Regions from separate parts of the Homo sapiens genome. Here all the other regions are linked to region 1. The links are contacts of gene promoters, found by promoter capture Hi-C in blood cells and fetal thymus (Javierre and others, 2016). All regions are on one chromosome and are shown on one strand. Each heading gives the region's core, a stretch centred on a gene start or on the middle of the fragment in contact. The rest is flanking DNA. Distances are from core to core; before and after follow the strand shown.

Region 1 (2,954 bases), core at 230-2,729:
GGTGCTCCGCGTATGTGTGTGGCTCTAGGCGGAGATGCCGGGGGTGGAAAGAGCCGGTAACAGAAACAGAACGTGCTAGAGGAAGAGCAGCCTGCAGGGAAGGCTGGCACAGATAACCACAAAAAGAAAGAAGGCCCCCGCATCACGTCTTCACCAAGACCCCACTGGCAAGGCGAGGACAGCGCCTTTGGGTGGATGCATCTGTGACCCAGAGGCAATGCTGGCTGTCCTGGTGTCTGATTTGATTGCATCTGATTTCAAAATTTGATCTCTGCTTCCTTCTGAAAACCTCATTCCCTTATGTCAGTTGTCAACAAGCCCTTGTCTAGTGCGGGCAGACTGTTTTCCATCAAGCAGTCCCAGCCAGGCTAACAATAAAATGGTTGGCAGTGAGCTTGGGGGCAGAAACCTGTTTCCATCCATGTGTCCCCGCAGCTAGCAAAGCCCTGGCACACGGCTGACCCTCAATAAATGCTTGCTGAATGGGTGAATTGTGTCTGCTTCCCCAGGAATAGGGGTGGGAGGCCTGAAGCCCCTGGGGACCGGTGGGGGCAGACAGCCTGAGATTAAACTTGATCCATAGATAATCCCCCAAATCCAGAAGCCACCTGGACAACAGTTGGCTGAACTGAGCTCCATCGTGGGATACATGCTGATGGTACTGCTGAGTTCACCAAGGGTCTCCCCGGGACCAGAAAACAGCTCCTCAAAATACAACTTATTATTCTAATCATTATTGGAGAGTGACAGAGAAAAGAGCGTCAATCCTTTGAGGGCAGAATCCATTTAGGAAGATTAAATGGCTATTCTCACCGCCGACCCCCAACCCCCGTTTTTACTTTTACAAACTTTATTATGAAAAATATCAAACATACAGAAAAGTGGAGAAAACAGTATAACGAATCCGGCCACCCATCACCCAGCCTCAGCGATGACCAACCCGCGCCTGACCTCTCCAGTCATCTATACCCCACCCCTCGAGGCAAATCTCCGACGTCCTCTCCTTACACGCGCAGACCTCGGTAGCGACGGGAATCCGTTCCGGACTCCTCTGGGGCCCTGGCCGGCTCCCTCGGCCCTGCTCAGCGCGGCGCGGGCGGGTTCTCAGCCCACGTCCGTGAAGCTGAAGGCCGGATCGTGCGGCGCCGCCCCGCCCCCCACGGCGCTTCCTCCTCGGTCCGCACCGCGAGGGTCACCGCGGCCCCGGAGCGCCTGGGACACTCGACCGGCAGCCGCGGGTGATGCGCGAGTGAGTCCCTCAGCGAAGCGCGGAAGAGAGAACGAAGAGGCGCCTTCCACTTCCTCTCGCTCTAACGCCGGCACCCGCCCCGCGCGTCCCTCGCCCCCGCTGCCCCGCCCCCTGCAGGGCGTGGCCACGGCCCGAGGGGCGGGGAAACACCCATATTTGGCCTTATATGGGCAGCCGCGTCACGGACGGCACTCATTCACATAAAACGCTGCGCGGCCGGCGGAATCCCCGGCTTCTAGGGCGGCGAGCGGCCGGGCTGGCTATCGAGCGAGCGGGGCGGGAACGCGGAGTTGCGCCGCCGCTCGGGCGCCGGGCTCCGTCGCGGCCGCAGCCCCGCGGGTCGCCCTCCCGTGCCTCGCCCGCGGACACCCTGGCCGTGGACACCCTGGCCGTGGGCACCCGCGGGGCGCGCGGCGCGGGGCCGCTGGCCGGCGGCGGCGGCGGCATGAAGGTCACGTCGCTCGACGGGCGCCAGCTGCGCAAGATGCTCCGCAAGGAGGCGGCGGCGCGCTGCGTGGTGCTCGACTGCCGGCCCTATCTGGCCTTCGCTGCCTCGAACGTGCGCGGCTCGCTCAACGTCAACCTCAACTCGGTGGTGCTGCGGCGGGCCCGGGGCGGCGCGGTGTCGGCGCGCTACGTGCTGCCCGACGAGGCGGCGCGCGCGCGGCTCCTGCAGGAGGGCGGCGGCGGCGTCGCGGCCGTGGTGGTGCTGGACCAGGGCAGCCGCCACTGGCAGAAGCTGCGAGAGGAGAGCGCCGCGCGTGTCGTCCTCACCTCGCTACTCGCTTGCCTACCCGCCGGCCCGCGGGTCTACTTCCTCAAAGGTGAGCGCTCGGGGTCCCTGCCACGCTCGCCCCTCCGGCGCCCCCGGGTCCCCTCCCTGCGCCGGGGCGCCCTCCTACACCCTGGGACCGGGAGAGTCACCACCTGCAGGAGTCTGCACCCTGTGGCTTGTTGTGCGCTTGGGAGGGCACTGCAAATGTCAGCACTCAGAGCTCCCCCTCTTCCCCACCCGCGTTCCTCGAAAGCGCCCGGCAGCGGGTCTGCCCGGTGGTCTGGGTGGAGTTGGTTATGCTGCGGGGGCTGCTGCTGTTTAGCAGTTTGGGGGCCGTCGGCTCGTGCCGGGCACGAGCCCCCTTTCCAGACGCGAGCTTCGCCGCTGTCGCTGGGGTCAGGGCTCGGGGCCTTCCTGATAGACTGATCTGGCGGGATCAGCAGGTCGCGATCCACTCTCCCTTGGTGTGGCGCCGTGGTGCCCCCCTTCCTCCCGCCTAGCCAGCTGTGGTCTTCACCGACCCCCTTGCCTTTTTGACCTGGCGAGTCCCTTCCCTTTCCATTTCATTTTATTGCTTTTTATTGTTTCCCTCCGGCCTCTTCTCCCCTCCTAGGTCTTTTCTCTAGCTCAGTTTGGAGCTCACATCCTTTCCACCCTTTTCACCTCCTCCTTCCTCCGCCCCAGGATTATCCCTGGGACCCATCCTGAGCTGAGCCTACAGCCAGCCAGCCACGAAATAGAGGTGCGCGGGGGCAGGGTGGTATGGAGATTCTGCGGCCTTTGATTTGACACCTCCCGGAGCTACCGCCACAGGCCTGCCCATTTCACCTGCCGGGAAGATAACTTTGGCTTCTGGTGGTGGGTGGGTGATTGACTCTCAAAATCCAAAGCATTGGTTTTTTCTGGGTTACTTCCTATGACTGCTCCTGC
Region 2 (2,954 bases), core at 238-2,737, 510 kb before region 1:
GCAAAGCTCTTTAAATTAAGTCCCAGCTATTTATCTTTGTTTTTATTGCATTTGCTTTTGAGCTCTTGGTCATGAAATCCTTGCCTAAGCCAATATCTAGAAAGTTTTTTCTGATGTTATCTTCTAGAGTTTGTATAGTTTCAGGCAAAAGCAACCAAGCTGAGAAATCAAGATCTCAACTCCTTTTACAATAGCTGCAAAAAAATTAAATACTTAGGAATATACCTAACCAAGGAGGTGAAAGGCCTATACAAGGAAAACTACAAAATACTGCTAAAAGAAATCATAGATGACACAAACAAATGGATCAACATCTCATGCTTATGGATGGGTAAAATAAATATTGTGATAATGACCATACTGCCAAAAGCAATCTACAAATTCAATGCAATTCTCATCAAAATACCACTATCATTCTTCACAGAACTAGAAAAAAAATCTTAAAATTCATGTGGAACTAAAAAAGAGCCTGCATAGCCAAAGCAAGACTAAGGAAAAAGAACAAATCTAGAGGCATCACATTACCTGATTTCAAACTATACGATAAGGCCACAGTCACCAAAACAGCATAGTACTGGTATAAAAATAGGCACATAGACCAATGGAACAGAATAGAGAACCAAGAAATAAAGCCAAATACCTACAGCTAACTGATCTTTGACAAAGCAAACAAAAACATAAAGTGGGGAAAGGACACACTATTCAACAAATGGTGCTTGGATAATTGGCAAGCCACCTGTAGGAGAATGAAACTGGATCCTCATCTCTTACCTTATATAAAAATCAACTCAAGATAGATCAAGGACTTAAATCTAAGTGCAGGCTTTATTTTCATTTAATTTTATTAACTTGTTTGCTTTTTATTATAAAAGTAATATATACTTATGTTTAAGTTGACTTTGGCTGGGAGTGGTGGCTCGCCCCTGTAATCCCAGCACTTTGGGAGGCCAAGTTGGGTGGATCACTTGAGATCAGGCATTCGAGACCAGGCTGGTCGACATGGTGAAACCTCTTCACTACTAAAAACACAAAAATTAGCTGGGTGTGGTGGTACAATTAGCAATTAGCACCAAAATGAGCATCCTTGTGTTTGTATCTTTAAGCACTTATTTGATTGTATTTAGACGATAAATTCCTAGAGTTACTGGGTCAAAAGACACATGCATTTTACATTTTTATAGATATCCTCCATGGACCTTAGTACCAGACAAAGCTGGGATTGAATCTGTACTCTGATACTAGCTGTGTTGCTTCAAACATGTTACTTTATTCTTTCTCAGCCTCAGTTTCCTTGGCTGTAAAATGGATATAGATTATATCTCAGAGTTGTTCAAGGATTAAACAATATGTTTAGTTCAAAATGGTTAGCAGTTCACATATATTCATACCTTTCTCTCCTCTTTATTGTCCCTCTCCTAATTCCTCTCTGAGTTTTTGCAAAGATTTGGCAAATATCCCATTTCATTTTATGTCAACAAATATTTATAAAACATTTAATATGTGCAAGTTTTGACAAACGCTGTAGGGATTCTAAATGTTTTCTTTTAAGGCACAGTCCTTTCTGGAACTTACAGTATTGTACAGGAGAAAACTATCTCCCAGGTCCTACAATAGGGCAGGCCCTTACTTAACATGTTTGGAATGAGTGAGTAAAGAAAGGAAGGAATGTTGCTGAATGAGTAACACCACAGTCTGGAAAAGAGCTCAGTGTAGGTCCTAGCAGCATAGAGTGGAGCATGGAGTCAAAAGTGACGGAGATGAGATTTTGCAAAACTTTTCTTCTGGATTTTACCTAATCACAAGGGAGGCATTGGGGCTGAAGGCCAAAAAAGCATTTGCTAGAAATATACTTAAAGTCTTATGTTTTAACTTAAAACTTCACATGAAGTTTGCATTCTACTCCATAACACATTGTTTGTTTCCAAATAAATGGAATCTTTCTCCTCAGTCCTAGCATAAAATGAACATTCCAAGAAAATGTACTATATTTATTGGGTGGCTCTAGTTCCTCCTGACATGCTTTCAGAGATATATACACCCAAGTTTGAGAAGCGTGAGATTAAGATAGATGCAGAATGAGTTCTCACTTCATGCTTCACCAGCCATCTCCCCTCTGTCTGTACTACACACCCACTCACAGCCTCATCCCTCTCAACTTTCTGCTAAAACTCTTACCTACCCCTGTTTTCTCTTCAATCCTGGTGTTGTTTTCCTTACCAATCTAAATTTTATGTTGACACTCTGCTACTCAAAATATATGTAAGAAAAAGAAATCAGCTACAAAACTCTTCCAACATCACTTGAGGTCATTAAAGTCTCAAGGGACCCTGTCATTCATCCACATTGTGTTAGCTTCTTCTGTCTCATCCCGGTCATCTATGACAATAGACTCTCAGAGAGATGTAGCTTGTTTCATTTAAATCTTGAAAAGCACCCAAACTAATGCTGTGGTCAATTAATGTTGCTTGGGTTCTGAGCATTCAGCTGAGTGTTCTCCTCTGTGTTTGAAGGACACTGTAAATGGAACACATGTTTTGAATTGCTTCTCCAGAGCTCTGATCTTTCCACCCCTTCTCTACCCCCACTGCTTGGGCTCTGGGTCAGTCCTCATCATCTCTTGTGTGGATTATTTCCCTAGCTCCTTCCATGGGTCTTCTTGTCTTTCTATTCTACCCTCCTCGAAGCTGCTAAAGTAGCTTTTCTAACCCAGAGGTCAGCCCACACTACTCCCTTGCTTAAAACTTAGGTGGCAACAATCTATAACCATGGGCAAGGACATTCCATTTCACTTATAAACATGAGTGAAAGAAGCCAGATACAAAAAAAGTACACACGTTAAAGCTGTAAAATGGATATAAATTCTATCTCAGAGTTGTTCAAGGATTAAACAATATGTTTAGTTCATAATGGTTAGAAAACCGATCTATGGGGTTAGAAGTCAGGATAGTGATTCC
Region 3 (2,954 bases), core at 287-2,786, 490 kb after region 1:
GGTAATTCTTCTGTGTTTTAAGTGTGTTTACTAATATGAAAACATTTGATTTTATTATTAATCTCTTGTAGTTTAGATGTTATCCTAGAATAACACATATGCCTCACCTCTAGCTTATTCTATAGGGCCAGATTACAGTATTACAAATTGGAAATCAATGAGAACTGAAACATTAACAACAAGAAAATTTTAAATAACATTGCATTTACTTTTATATGCTTTGATGGTTGTCACCAAGTATAGTACAGCTGTTACTCTGAGTAAATGGCAAAGTAAATTAGTAATATTTATTGAAACTTTTTATGATATTGTAGTCATTTATCGATTACCATGTTTATTAAAATAATTACTTTATCTTTCTCCATCCTTTCCAGTCCTAGTATTTTGATGATGTAGCAGAAGATTGAGGTTTGGTGGGAAACTTTGACGTTTGGGTCTTGGTCTGTTAAAAATTTCAACAGTTTTAATTGACCTTTGAGATTTTCACTCTCATTTATTGAAGATGAAGAATTTACCCTAAGTAGTGGAAACTTAATTGAATTATGGTTCTCCTGATACTTCTCCTTTTTTAAATCCTACTCTAGTTCTGAGAAAGTATAACTTAAAATGAAAAACAAACAGAAAGCCCAACACCTGTTCTGCAGAGTTGATGCTAGTCTGGAAGCAGCTGCCCACTCTCTTTTCCTTGGACTAAAGAATCTTGCCCTAAACTTGTAACTGAAAATCAAATCTTGTATTGTCTTAAAATCACTTCCCAGAAATCACTGTATTTACTTGCCTTTTCCTTTTTTTCTTTTTTCTTATAAGTAGACCAGAATGTTTTTTACTTTTTTCTTTATTTAACATGAACATTCCTGGAGTAACTATCACTCCCCTGTGATAATTACTGCCATTTACTTCCAGGCTGAGAAGCTAGTATCGCTGACAACTCATAGGATGTGAGGAAGAGACAGAAGGAAATGGGTTGGGGATTACCAAGTTGCAGTTAAGTAAGAGAGTGCTTAAATACATATTTATAGTTTCTCTGATTTAACTGTTAGTCTGCCTTGTTGAATAAAAAAAGTATTATTTTATATGAATATTTTCTCATTCAGAAATTAGCTATGAACAGAAGAAAATATTAAGCTTTATTCCAACAGTTATTTTGTTTTAAAGTATGAACCTGATGTTTTTTAAAGCCTTCTGGTACCTCTGGTAGTTTTATGTAATCCAGGGAAGAAACAGTCCGAAGTAGGAAAAAATACTTTACTTTGTATTTCTTCTCAAAATGAGATTAGGAGAGAACTGTGCCACAAAACCTTGCCTTCAAGGCTGGAGTGCAGAACAATTCACAGAAGCCTTTTTGTTGCACTGGGCTCTGAAGAAATGTTACATTAATTATGGTTATATCAACAAGTAGCATTTTAGTCATTTTAGTAATTGGGTTTTAGGTAATTACAGTGCAGCGTATGTATAACAACTTTACTAGTTTTCTTTTTAATGGTGGTGTTCTTTGGGTTTTTAACATTCAGGAATTTCTGTGTTGCTTACTTTTCAGTTTGCTTTCAGTTTAATGTTTCTGAAAAAATAATGGTACCTTTGACATTTCATCCTTCCAACCCTGAGTCTTTCCTACTATTTTTTTTGCTACTTTGTTAAAATAAGATTATGATCATTTAAATTAGTCTTACTCGAAAGTTATACTAAATTAAACTAAAGTTGCTGGTTATATTTGCTGAAATTGAAAGAATCTAATTTTAATTCATAGCCATTTGATTTCACCATATTTTAAAAATCTGACAGCGTAAGAGAAAGCAAGCTGTCAAAGTGGAGCACAGAACAATTTGTAGACAAAGTTAAGCACTTGAAAGCTAAATGCCAGTGATTGGCAGTGATCAGCCTACGTTTATATACAGGAGCTCAGCAACAATGATTTTATTTCTTAGTCAAGATGGCTCAACATTAAAGCAAGCTTGTGTTGATTTCTAGGTTGCAGTTTAGTTTGTGGTTAAAACCACTCATTGAGAGGGGTTAGAGCTGAAACCACTGCAGAGGGTGAATCACAATAAATGCCAGACTTCTGATGTTTTCTTCTGGCGTAAAAGAGTTTTGATATTTCATCCTTAATTTTTTTAACCTTTTTTATTTAGCTGAGAGTAATGGACTTTGGCAAAATGTGGATGACTCTTTGAATTTGCCAGTGGTCTCAAGTGATAGGGCCTTTGCAAATGTGAGATTTCTTCATCAGAACAGCCTATTCTCATAGATTACATTGTTAGAAATTCAACCCCTTCCGCCCCAGCAAAAAGCAAAAAATTTAGATCCAAGAAAGGTGGAGGTACCTTTTAATTTAAATTACTACTGGTTTTGGTACTAGATAATGTCATGTAGCAATTTGGCTACATTATTTTTATTTTGTAATTTTTAAATTCTAGGAACCTACTCTGGTTTTAAAAGTGAGAAACTTAAGAGTTATTTGGTTTTGGATGAGAAATTTCAAGAATCTGGTTCTATTTACTAGGCTTTTGAGTTGACAAACATTTAGAATTTGGTTCCCCTACTAACCTTTGTTACCACAGAAAGTTTTTTAGTTTTCAGTGAGAATAAAAAACATTTAAAATATTGTATTTATCTACCATGATACTGTAAAGGGTTATTGAATGAGGCATGTCAGTTGATGGAGTAAGATCATGGAGACTTCTCTCTGTTAATAAATTCTCCCCTCTTATGGCAGACTTCAAAGACCCCTTGGTGAAAGATTCAGCCATTTTGTTACAATGGATCAACTTTCTTCCATAGGGAAAGCAGTGATGTAAAGGAGAAAAAGGGATGGTCTTGTTTACTTCCATTTTTTTTTTTAAAGGTTAGCTGCCTCATTTTATCTGCAGCTGCATACAGGAAATTAAAATTTTATCAGAAGGTTTTGAAGTTCTTTGTAATCAGACATGATCACTACTTGGAGGAAAATGTTCACT
Region 4 (2,954 bases), core at 175-2,674, 490 kb before region 1:
CAAGTAATATAAAGATAAAATGTAAGGTTATAATGCAGATTCTCAGGTGGACACGACACATTTTAATAGTGTAAATAGCAGATTCATATGCACTTAGAGTCAGTCAATCCACTTGTGTTTCTTAATTTTGCTGACCTTTGAATTGCCACTGAAATAGCATTAATACTGTGCTATTATCCAAAAATTATTTTAGATATATTTTGTTTTTTCTATACATAATACTGTAATTTTATTTTATTTTTTTTTGAGATGGAGTCTTGCTCTGTCACCCAGGCTGGAGTGCAGTGGCGCGATCTTGGCTCACTGCAAGCTCCGCCTCCCGGGTTCAAGCAATTCTCTGCCTCAGCCTCCTAAGTAGCTGGGATTACAGGCGCCTGCCACCACGCCCGGCTAATTTTTGTATTTTTAGTAGAGACGGGATTTCACCATCTTGGCCAGGCTGGTCTTGAACTCCTGACCTCGTGATCTACCTGCCTCAGCCTCCCAAAGTGCTGGGATTACAGGCGTGAGCCACCACGCCCGGCAATATTGTGATTTTTTATATCACATGAGCACACATTGAAACCTGTCAACAATATATTTTCTAATACTGGTATTCACTGAAGTTCCAAGTATGCTTATAGGTAGGACTTGAATCCATTGCTTCTAGTCACATAAACGAGTTTTAATTCATTTTTCTTTTTATTCTTATATTAAATACTAAATAGCTTTCCTTTATATAGTTATTATTTTAGTACGATGTTGAATATTAGCACAAATATTAAATTAAATTAAATATTAGCACAAATTACTAATCAGTTTCAAGGCATACAACTTTATTTTGCCATTACCCCAATGTTTGAAATTAGCAGGGCTCTTTAAAACTGGTGCTTCTAGCATTTCATTGACTTACACTAAAATCATTGCCTCCATTCCTCAACCACCCAGTTAATTTTAACCTTGACCTCCCACAGCTGTACTCATTTACTCAGTCCACAAAACTCCCTGATTCCATCCTCTCTGCCTCTTATGAAGCAATACTAGAGAGGAAAAACAAAACCCATTCCTTTAAGAAAGATTCCGCCTCCTCTCATAAGCAAGCGCCTAATGGTAATTGTAGAGTTTACTAAGTCAAACACTTACTACTCAGCATTGAGAGAAGCTGCTGCTGCTAATGCTGCTGCTGCTGCTGCCGCCGCCGCCGCTGCTGCTGCTGCTGTTGGTCTGAGGCTGCAGTAGGTTTCTGTGCAGCATTGCAGAATCCACACCTAGAGAACAGAAGACACAGACACGTACGTCTACTACCCTTGTTAGAAGGAAGCTTTGGATCTTCGGTGGGTAAGGAGATCTATCTAGCTATTTTGTCCAGAAACTGTGAGAAAAGGAATGATCATGGAAAAGACTGTTCATCAGACATGCTTAAAATGGATTATGTTAATTTGTCTTCCTTTGGTGGTGGTGGGGGTGTCCAGATTTGCGACTAGCAAAATATAGTGAGGACTATATTCTGATAGGTGCCCTTAGGATACTTTTTTTGCTATTCATAAAAAGGCTAACCTTGATGCATGCAAAGCTTTTCATTTTTTTGCTTTTTAAATGCAAGAAAATATCCAGCCACTCCCAATATCTCTCTCAAATACTGCAGATATTTTTAAATACCAAATAAAATGTCAGGCTGAGCATTTTCTAAACAATTTTCTTCCTCAAACTAGGCAGCCTTCCCCACGATTCGTTAAGAGTATTTAAAAATAATAAGGCATGGTTGGATTTTTTGAGCAAATGGGAGATGGTGGTAGACTAAAATTTCTACAGCCTTAGTCCAGTGGAGAGAGAAAACGATAAATGCATCACAGTTTGTGTCAAGACAAGATTCATTTTCCACACTTCATATGTGGGAAGAGGAAACTACATTTTAATTAGCACATTTTTAGGGAGGAGGGGGGGGATGAAGATGAGGCGGATGGCGTGAGGTATTTGAGGGGGACGAGTCTGCAGATGAGGAAAGGAAATGAAGTGGATTGTCGCCAGTGCCTTGGAAACGAAGGGGGATAAGGGTGGGGAACGAAGTTTGTTGTGTGTGTTAGGGTGGGGTTGGCCCAAGGGACCATGAATCATTAGAATGGCGCTCGGAGGGGTGTGCTTGCAAGTGTACTGGTGCAGGAGGGACGTGGAAGTCGTGGGTGGCAGAGAAAAGTGTGCACCGCTGGGAGGTCTATTTCAAGAATAGGTTGGGATGAGAAACATGTCTGGGCGAGGGGGGTGGGAGGCCCGGTGTCACCTGTGGATGGATCCACAGCCCTGCAATTGCGTGTTGCAAAGTTTGCCCGGCCCCGCATTCATTTTGAAGGTTCTTGGCGATGCCTCGACTTTTCGCCTCAAAGAAGTGAGCTCTCATAAGGTTCAGAGGCCGGGAGCCAAAGCGGGAGTGAAGACTCTCGAGGGGTCCAAATGAAGCAGAAGCGAGAGCCCCTGTCCTCCCCCTATGTGGAGGTGAAGCAGGGGTTGTGGGGACTAGGCGCCCGCGAAGGCAGCTGTGCTGAGAGCAAAGTCCAGGCCCCACGGGGGGCGTGCGGAGGTTGAACCTTTGCAGTGGCCTCCTACAGCCCCAGCAGCCAGCGTGGGCGGCCGAGGCTGACTCAAAGCGGCGGCTCAGCCTCGGGAGTAGGAGTAGGGGGCTCGCTCATTTAGGGCGGGAGACATTTCCGAGGCGCCCCTCCTCCCCTTCGCGGTCGGGTTTCTATCGGGGTCGTTTCCCCCTCTGGCCCTCCGGGGACGCCGCGGATTCGAGCTGCACAGTCAGAAGAGGACGTTGAAAAGGCGCCAGGCAGCCGCCCCGAACCAGGCCCTCCCGGCTGCCGGGCCTGCAGGCCCCCACCGCTGCGGCTTCACGGACTTAGAGCTTGAGGGCGCGGAGGGGGCTGCGGGGGCGGGACCAGGACTCCCGAGGGGCGCTCGGGGCGGGGCCAGAGAGAGCT
Region 5 (2,954 bases), core at 201-2,700, 470 kb before region 1:
TCCCAAGCAAATTAACACAGGAACAGAAAACCAAATACCACATGTTCTCACTTAAAGTGGGAGGTAAACATTGGGTACACGTGGACATAAAGACAGAACAGTCGACACTGGGGACTACTAGAGGCAGAAGAGAGGGAGGGGATAAGGGCTGAAAAACTGTCCAGCACAATGCTTACTTCCTGGGTGATAGGATCAATTGTACCCCAAACCTCAGCATCACACAATATACCCGTGTAATAAGCCTGCAGAGGTACACCCTGAATCTAAAATAAAAGTTGAAATTATAAACAGAACTTTTGTGCAATGGAATAACAAAAGAATTGAAGGCATTGGGCTTTGCAATATCAGGTATTGCATGTTGTCATTACAGGAAGTCATTGTGCCATCTTGGTTTCCCCTTAATAACATATGGTGGTTTATCTTGAAACTTCAAAAGTAAACATAGCGTAAGCACCTATAATAAATTATTGCCAAAAAAAATCACATGCAGAATTATTTTTGCTATGTGAATTTAGTGGAGAATCCAATCCAGTAAGACTTTTTGCACATTTGAATGGTGAAACAAGATGATTTGGCTCCTCTAGTAGCTTTGTTGCATGCACAGTTGACCATTTTTGTTTGTAGCTCCTTGTAATAAGATATTTAACACAGGGCTTTATATTGGGACATAGTGATTTTATAAATGGGTGGGAGAAAACACTGAATTTGACAGAACTAACTTCTAGATTATTTCAATGTAAAATTTTCATGCTTAAAATTTTTAAGTGTTAGATGTTTAAAATAACTTACTCAAAAGTAATTCTTAGTAAAATGAAAATCAGTGAAAAGCACTCAGTTTTTTAAAAGCAAGAATGATTTTATTGGTTTCAAAGTTAAACTTACTATTTGAATCAAATTTTTATAAAATCCATTTATTTTTTAAATACTTGAAATTTTGAGTAAGAAATATAAGGACATGGAACAAAATAAGGCACAAAAGCGTATACAGTGAAAAGTAAGTTGTCACCCCCAAACCACTCAAGTTTCCTCCTCTTTTCTTTTTTTTTTTTTTGGAGACAGAGTCTCACTCCATCACCCAGGCAGGAGTGCATTGGGTTCAAGTGGGTTCTTGTGCCTCAGCCTCCTGAATAGCTGGAGTTACAGGCGTGCGCCACCATGCCTGGCTAATTTTTTTGTATTTTTAATAGCGTCGGGGTTTTGCCATGTTGGCCAGGCTGCTCTTAAACTCCTGGCCTCAAGTGATCCACCCACCTCGGCCTCCCAAAGTGCTGGGATTACAGGTGTGAGCCACCGCACCTGGCTGTCATTTTATTAAAACGTTTCCTTTCCTAGCGTCCGTTCCACTAAGGCAGAGGTATAGAAAGTGGGAGGTGGTAGCTATAATAATCTTTCACTCATACTATAGTATAAATAATACTTTTTAAATTTAATAATACTAATTTAATTTAATATTTTTTTAATTTTAGTTCGATATTTGTGGGAGAGATGGGAATCTTCAGAGTGGTGGTAGCCAACTTCTGCCTCCATGGTTCAATTAAAAGCAAGTCCCCTAGTTAATAGAAGTAAGGGGTCTCTAGGCTTGCAAGTTTCTTCAGATGCTAAAATTATGCCTTTGTGTAAAATCAGACTTTCTGTTATATGAGTAGACGTAGGAATTCTCTGTATACTTTAAAGGAGAAGCAAATAGAAATAGAGAGGGTGATAAAATCTAGATTCATAGAATTGTGGAAACCTTACTTCATTTTAAGAGTGAAGAACCCAGTCTGATTAAAGGAAGTTCCGTGTTTAAGGCAACATGTTGCTTGTGGCAGATCTAGACTCAAAACTGAGATTCCTGCCTCTGTCCAGTGCTTTTTTCACTTCATTACATTACGAGCCATCTTAACTCCATTCATGCAATTCTGGGGTAAGGGGTTTTGTCAGAATTCCACCTGACCTTCCCTAGAGCAGGGTTTGGACAGGATGAGAGACCCCAATCTCTCAGATTTGAGGCTTCTTTTCAAGATATCTGTTTTTCCCTTTTCCTTAAAAAAGAAAAAAAAAATTTCATCGAATTTGGGAAAGTTTTGTGAAGTTTTTTCCAAAATCTGTAATGTGTCAGGATCTTTCTTGTTTTCTTAATAGAAGCCACACTGATATTATGTATATTGTTCCAATTTTAGTGTGCTCACCACTGAAGCAAGTCATGTACATGGTAAATGTTTCTGACATGTTTAGGAACATTATATAGAAAATTCAGAATGGATGTATTTGGCTGCCTTGACATTCCTTTTTCTTTTGGAAAGGAATGTATTTAAATGAGAAACAGTTCCACCCCTCCAATGAAAAGGAATAGTTTTAGGTCATTTGAGTGAAATAGATTATAGAACTTATGACCCCAGTTTTCTTGTTTTTTTTTTTTTTTTGAAACGGAGTTTCACTCTTGTTGCCCAGGCTAGAGTGCAGTGGCGTGATCTCGGCTCACTGCAACCTCAGCCTCCCGGTTCAAGCAATTCTCCTGCCTCAGCCTCCTGAGTAGCTGGGATTACAGGCACGTGCCACCACGCCTGGCTAATTTTGTATTTTTAGTAGAGATGGGGTGTCTCCATGTTGGTCAGGCTGGTCTTGAACTCCCGACCTCAGGTGATCCGCCCACCTCGGCCTCCCAAAGTGCTGGGATTACAGACGTGAGCCACCACACCCGGCTGATTGTACTTTTAAGTCAGTTTTAATAGGACCCAGGTACAAGGTCAAGGTACTTGAGAATTTTTGGATTTAATGTTTTACATTGGTTTAAACTGGTTGGAGTCTGGCTGTGTTTCCTGGTGACAATATTCATATTAAAAATCTTATAGGTCAGTTTTTATAAAAACTATGTAATATTTCTTTTAAGTTAATGATTGATTTTTTTTTTTTTTAACTTCTGGTGCCTTTGCCTGAGATTTTGGTTTGTAGAGAATAATATGTCAGTTAAG
Region 6 (2,954 bases), core at 326-2,825, 470 kb after region 1:
CCCATTACCTTCAACCTTCATTGTTTTTTAATTATATTTGAAAAATATAATATTAAATATACTGGTGTTCAGATCTTACATTTGGTCATATCATGTGTTTCCCGAACTTGATAAGCTTTTGTTGAGGCGTTTATTTTTATAAAATACCTAGACCCCCTCTCCCTAAAATTTTGATTCAGTGATTTGTGATGGAGCCTGGGAATTTGTATTTTTAAACAAATATCTCAGGTCACGTATTTTCTTTTTTCGTTTTTATCATTAGAAAAGTTTACTTTTTATTTCTTTCCAAGTTTTCTTACCTTTTAATAGGGGTAATCTTGTTCTATCCTCTGTACTTAATATATGTGATTTTACACCTTATATATTTCATTTGATCCTTATATAGGAGGTGTCCTTCTAAATTTAGGGTATACATATCTTGCTAAATAGAAATTTGATTTCCAGAAACTTGATATAATGACATTTCTTAAATACAAATTGATAAGCAATGCCTGTAACCCTTTAGCTATGCATATTTCCCATTATTCAGTTGTATGGTTTTAGTAAATGTACTTTCATATTGGCTTATCAGCATTATTTTCTGAATCAGTATCTCTAGAGTTTTTCTTAGTCTCTCTCCATCGCAGTGCAAAATAATTTTTTTCTTTTTTTTTGAAAGGGTTGAATAGTAATAGATAGAGCTCTCCTGGTGTGCTAGCAAATAATGATGTATTTGTTTAATTGTAGAATCTTATATACCAGTAAAGTTCATACTGTGCAGTTTCAAATTTACAGATTATTCATCCTCTACCCCAGTTCCTGTTATTTCTGCACATTTGACCATTTGCTTCAGCAAAGTGACACATTTTCAGTGTCCCGTGCAAACTAAGCTCCACTCCCTATTCTAGGCAAAACTTTCTTTTTCATGCCACCCACCTGTAATGCTTTGCCATCTCTCCTTTACTTGCTTGAACACAACCCATTAATCCAGGACTAGTTAGCCTAAGTCCTGTATGCTTTTCTCAACCATTCTCACTGTTACAAATTTTCTCAAAAGTGCTATAGCATATGCCACTTGCCTGAGGATTTAATAATATGCTGTCTTATCAATTACTTGTTATATGTGAGTGTTTTGGCTGTCTAATTAAACTACAAGCTTGTATACAGAGAGGTTCACATCCTATAAAAATAAATTATTAGCAGAATCCTTAGCACTTAACATTATCACATCCTTTTGGTAGTCTGACAAAATTCTAATAACTGTTTTAACCTCTTAAGCTAGTCAGGTAAGAAGTTATTTTATCTTTAATCCCTAGTACCAAATAATTACCAGTTAGTTAAATAGAGTTAACAATAGAGTCATAAAATAAGAATTACTAATTTTAAATTTCAAAATGTTTAGGGAGGACTGATTCCTTCCATAAATATTTTACTAATCTTTTTGTCCTTTGCCAATCTTTTCGGCCTGTCATTTTACCAGCAGACTTTTTCTGCTTTTAAGAACCCTGTGCCATTGATCTTTCTTTTTCAGTCCCTAGAATATACACATCATTGGACATTGCCCTTTGTCACTGGTTTTCAAAGGTGATCCTCAGGTCTACCTCCATCAGAATCATGTAGAGTGCTTATTAAAGTACAGATTATTAATGCCCCTTTCCCTGAACTGTGCTGTTTTTCATACATATTTCACTTTGTTCTTTTTTTTTCTTTTGCCAGACTGCTCTCTCTTCTATCGTCACCACCACTGAAATCCTTTCTGTTATCTAAAGCTATCCGCCAATTAATTGTAGCTAGAACTGTTTTAGTGTAGTGGGTTAGGAACATAGGCTGTGAGCACATACTACCTAATTTGGAATATTGGCTCCATCATGTTTCCAAGATCTCAGAGTTAGTTACTTAAAAATATTTCTGTGCTTTAGTGTTTCTTTGTATAAAATGGGGATAACAATGTATCTCATAGGGCTGTTGTATGTGTTATATTAATACATGTGAATTCCTCAGAATAATGCTAGTACATAGAAAGCACTTAATAAATATTAAGCTTATTGTTGTGGTTTCTTCCACTTTTTAGGTCTTATAAAATTTTCTAGTAAAGTAACTTACATTCATACATCTTCCTATTAGATTGCAAGTTTCTTGAAGGTAGAGCCAGCCTTATTAAGCTGTGTAGTTTTAAATGGATTTTTACCTATAAAGGATGTTCATAAATATTTGAGAATGAAATCATAGGAAAATGGCAAACTCTAATAAGATTGTTTTTCAGAGCCTATTTAATATAAATTATCTAAAGTAATTTAATACTGTCTATATTATATTTCAGGAACTCTAATGAATCATTGATTGACCAGCACTATTTTACCAGTTGGAATGAATGATCAGAAATGGGCATAGTGCTTTTAGATCCAACATGTAACAGATGGATGTTACTCCATGCTGATTACTTCTTCAAGCCAGTACTTTTTTGATTGTGTAGGATCTTTGTCTCTTCATCTTTGAATTCAATTACTGGAAAATAAAAGGAGTTCATGTAGTTTTTGTCCAGGCTTGAGTCACCATGAGTAGTAGTTTAGGAAAAGAAAAAGACTCTAAAGAAAAAGATCCCAAAGTACCATCAGCCAAGGAAAGAGAAAAGGAGGCAAAAGCCTCTGGAGGTTTTGGGAAAGAGAGCAAAGAAAAAGAACCTAAGACCAAAGGGAAAGATGCCAAAGATGGAAAGAAGGACTCCAGTGCTGCCCAACCAGGGGTGGCATTTTCAGTTGACAATACGATCAAACGGCCAAACCCAGCACCTGGGACTAGAAAAAAATCCAGCAATGCAGAGGTGATTAAAGAGCTCAACAAATGCCGGGAAGAGAATTCAATGCGTTTGGACTTATCCAAGAGATCTATACACATATTGCCATCATCAATCAAAGAGTTGACTCAATTAACAGAACTTTATTTATACAGTAACAAATTGCAGTCCCTCCCAGCAG
Region 7 (2,954 bases), core at 123-2,622, 430 kb before region 1:
CATATCACACTCTACCAGATTCTTAAACTATGAGATAAAACAGTATTAGGCAAAAGTAGCATAATATGGATATAAAATTTCTATTACACTGAGAATTCAGAAAATTCTCTTAGGACAAGATTGGATAGGGCAAGATTGTGTAACCCTGAAATGTGTTAGTCTTGAACAGATATTTCGGGATCTGTTCTGATTATCTCTCCCCAGCAGAAAGATTGTGATTAAGGGAAAAAATAATTCTTAATTATTTGTTGTGGGTTAGTGGTTACATGCAGGTTTTTGTTTTCATTTTGCATAATTTAGTTTCGAACAATGTCTTCATTTTTTTTAACGACTAGAAGGCCTAATTTAGATTTTAAGTGTTTTGTGAATGTGTTGTTAATGTTTCTTATCACTGAAAAATGGCATCAGGAGCTGAAGATGGGAGAAGCTGTTGAATTCAGACAACAGAATGCATTAATACTGTAACACTGCTGTTGGCCACAGTGATTGAACATTGTGATAATTTATGCTGCACTATGTATTTAAATCCATTATATTGTTGAGGTGGAGAAGCGGAGTTAAGTAGTGTACTGATTTCAGACCTAAATTTTCTTGAATTTCTTTATTTATTATGCCTCCTTGCTAAGTAGTTGATATTACATGGATCACTTACATTTTGTATAGGAGTATATATAGAGCTCATATAGGAGAACTTAGATTACTTCTTATAAGAAATTGGATACGAAAATGCTTTGGTTTTGTGAGAAAGAGGATTTAACAGTGTCTCCAGAGAGCTAAGCTAACCAACAGAAAAAATGGCATCAAGTTATAAATTCTTGCTATAGAAAGAGGGGAGGCTTTTCTTTCTTTTAAATCACTTAATTTTTTCAGATAAACTTTTAAATGCAAGTTTAACATATATATAGAAAAGTACAGAAATCATAACAGTACAGCTTGATGAATATGAATATATATATTCATTATATATATATATATATATATATATATATATATATATATATATATAAAGTGAACACCGTGTGTAACCTACCTAAGTCAAGAACTAGAATGCTAGCAACACCCTGCTCTGGGTTCTCAGGCATTTCTCCTCTCTCTGCAAGGCAGCCATAATCCTGACATAATTTAGTTTTGAACATACCATATTCTAAATTCAAAGTTTAGTTTTGAATACCATAGAGTAGTGTTGCCTGTTTCAGGATTTTATATACATGGAATCATTCAATATCTACTCTTTTGTCTCCAGCTTCTTTTGCCCAGCATTTTTTTTCCTGTGGGATTTGTCTGTGTTGTTAAATGTAACAGTAATTCATTCTCTTTATTGTATGTACTGTATTCCATTTTATGAACATAAAATAATTCATTTAGATAATGGTCATTCAGATTGTTTCCAGTTTGCATCTATTAAAAATAATTCTGCCATGAACATCCTTGTTGTATGGTTTTTGTTGTTCATATCCATGCAGCTCTTTTGAGTGTATTTCTGGGAGAGGAGTGGCTGGCTTACAGGGCATGTGTGTCTCCAACTTTTGCAGGTAAGGCCAGTTTCCCAAAGTATTTGTACTAATTGACATACCAACTCTGAGTTCCAGATGTTCCACATCCTTGCCAGTACTTGATATTAAGTTTTTTGTTTCTGTTTTCATTTTAGCCACACTGGTAGGTAGATAGTGGTATCTCACTGTGGCTTTAATTTTTATTTCCCTTATAACTAATGATGATGGGCACTTCTTAATGTACATACTGGGTTTTTGGATGTGCTTTTGCAAAGTGCTGTTCACGTCTTTTACTAATAGAAAAATTGGGTTATTTTTCTTTTTATTATTGATATCAGTGGTCTAAAAAGATATATTCTGGATTATCTTTTTTCAGATACCCTTAAAATGTTAACATCCATTCTTAAAATCCAAAGTTAATAGCTGTCTCTTCCCTTTTTCTGAACAATACAAGGATCTTAAAACACTCTTATTTTCTATTCTTATCTTATATGCTATTATTAACCAGGGTATTAGTTCACCTTGTTTTTAACCACCTGCATTTGTTATTGCTATTTTTTTATACAGTATTTTTAAAACTGCATGTTTCCCAGCCTGGGCAACATGGCAAAACCTTATCTCTACAAAAAATACAAAAATTAGCCAGGGGTGGTGGCACGCACCTGTAGTCCTAGCTATGCAGGAGGCTGAAGTGGGAGGATCGCTTGAACCTGGGAAGCAGAGGTTGCAGTGAGCTGAGATCTTGTCTAGGCGACAGAGCGAGACCCTGTTTCAGAAAAGAAAAAAAAAATTACAAATTTCTTTACTCACTGTTGTTTCTTCCATCCCAGCCTGCCCTTCCAGTTTTAATTTCTTTCTTCCTAGAATTTGTCCTTTAAAAGTTCCTTTAGTAAGTTCATAAAACTTTTTAGTGAGACAGTGTTTTATTTTACTCTTATTCTCCAAAGATAGTTTTGTTAGATATACAATTCCTAGACTGACATCTTGTCACAGCAATTTGAATATATTTCTTTGTCTCATTGCTTTTATTTAGTCTTCTTTTGAAGTCTGTTGCAGGTTTAATTGTCAGTCCTTTGTAGGCAGTCTGTCCCTGGACCACTCTGCAAAAAGTCTCTAGCCATGATTTCCTTGAATATCTCCTCTGATCTATTTCCTCTTCAGGAACTTTGGTATGTTGGACTTTACTAAAGTCTCTTAGTGTGTGTCTGTCTCTGTCTGTCTCTCTCTCTCTCTCTCTCTCTCATTTTTTCTTAGCCTCTCTCTCTCCCCTTTTTTTTTTTTTTTTTTGAGAAAGAATCTCACTCTGTTGCCCAGGCTGGAGTACAGTGGCTCGATCTTGGCTCACTGCACCCTCCGCCTCCCAGGTTCAAGTGATCCTCCTGCCTCAGCCTCCTGAGTAGCTAGGATTACAGGTGTGTGCCACCATGCCCGGCTAGTTTTTGTATTTTTAGTAGAGACGAG

The links. The method cuts DNA at HindIII sites, captures the fragments that hold promoters and counts their contacts. A CHiCAGO score of 5 or more calls a contact.
Region 2: a contact is called between a fragment that was not itself captured here and the fragment with the promoter of DUSP5 in region 1, in 5 of 17 cell types (neutrophils, monocytes, M2 macrophages and 2 more). The highest score is 16.6, in neutrophils.
Region 3: a fragment that was not itself captured here is called in contact with the fragment with the promoter of DUSP5 in region 1 in 7 of 17 cell types (activated CD4 T cells, naive CD4 T cells, total CD4 T cells and 4 more); the score reaches 8.0 in activated CD4 T cells.
Region 4: a fragment that was not itself captured here is called in contact with the fragment with the promoter of DUSP5 in region 1 in 14 of 17 cell types (activated CD4 T cells, fetal thymus, neutrophils and 11 more); the score reaches 13.5 in activated CD4 T cells.
Region 5: a contact is called between a fragment that was not itself captured here and the fragment with the promoter of DUSP5 in region 1, in 7 of 17 cell types (neutrophils, activated CD4 T cells, monocytes and 4 more). The highest score is 12.5, in neutrophils.
Region 6: a fragment that was not itself captured here is called in contact with the fragment with the promoter of DUSP5 in region 1 in 5 of 17 cell types (M0 macrophages, naive B cells, non-activated CD4 T cells and 2 more); the score reaches 6.8 in M0 macrophages.
Region 7: a fragment that was not itself captured here is called in contact with the fragment with the promoter of DUSP5 in region 1 in 3 of 17 cell types (activated CD4 T cells, monocytes and total B cells); the score reaches 11.2 in activated CD4 T cells.

What each region holds. Positions count from the first base shown.
Region 1 is chr10:110,496,428-110,499,381 of GRCh38, forward strand. DUSP5 (dual specificity phosphatase 5) reads left to right here and starts at 1,480. Exons shown (of 4, transcript NM_004419.4): 1 at 1,480-2,073. The coding sequence starts at 1,695. DUSP5-DT (DUSP5 divergent transcript) reads right to left here and starts at 55. Exons shown (of 2, transcript NR_187547.1): 1 at 1-55. RefSeq lists an enhancer at 2-525 and silencers at 1,007-1,536, 1,547-1,686, 1,757-1,816, 1,937-2,206. The HindIII fragment of the contact is 7,811 bases long and covers 1-2,954 here.
Region 2 is chr10:109,985,943-109,988,896 of GRCh38, forward strand. All of the region lies in intron 2 of ADD3-AS1 (ADD3 antisense RNA 1), which reads right to left. Among named protein-coding and RNA genes, the nearest start is that of ADD3, 21 kb to the right of the region's middle. RefSeq lists an enhancer at 1,403-1,904. The HindIII fragment of the contact is 9,885 bases long and covers 1-2,954 here.
Region 3 is chr10:110,991,284-110,994,237 of GRCh38, forward strand. All of the region lies in intron 3 of SHOC2 (SHOC2 leucine rich repeat scaffold protein), which reads left to right. Among named protein-coding and RNA genes, the nearest start is that of MIR548E, 3.8 kb to the left of the region's middle. The HindIII fragment of the contact is 826 bases long and covers 1,124-1,949 here.
Region 4 is chr10:110,004,835-110,007,788 of GRCh38, forward strand. ADD3-AS1 (ADD3 antisense RNA 1) reads right to left here. Exons shown (of 5, transcript NR_038943.1): 2 at 1,123-1,247. It also overlaps a transcript of ADD3 not described here. Among named protein-coding and RNA genes, the nearest start is that of ADD3, 1.7 kb to the right of the region's middle. RefSeq lists enhancers at 1,795-2,350, 2,351-2,904 and a silencer at 2,733-2,954. The HindIII fragment of the contact is 252 bases long and covers 1,299-1,550 here.
Region 5 is chr10:110,023,894-110,026,847 of GRCh38, forward strand. The region is part of intron 1 of ADD3 (adducin 3); the gene reads left to right. Among named protein-coding and RNA genes, the nearest start is that of ADD3-AS1, 17 kb to the left of the region's middle. The HindIII fragment of the contact is 8,514 bases long and covers 1-2,954 here.
Region 6 is chr10:110,961,826-110,964,779 of GRCh38, forward strand. It overlaps SHOC2 (SHOC2 leucine rich repeat scaffold protein), which reads left to right. Exons shown (of 9, transcript NM_007373.4): 2 at 2,300-2,954. The coding sequence starts at 2,534. Among named protein-coding and RNA genes, the nearest start is that of MIR548E, 26 kb to the right of the region's middle. The HindIII fragment of the contact is 885 bases long and covers 1,134-2,018 here.
Region 7 is chr10:110,062,778-110,065,731 of GRCh38, forward strand. The region is part of intron 1 of ADD3 (adducin 3); the gene reads left to right. Among named protein-coding and RNA genes, the nearest start is that of ADD3-AS1, 56 kb to the left of the region's middle. The HindIII fragment of the contact is 7,149 bases long and covers 1-2,954 here.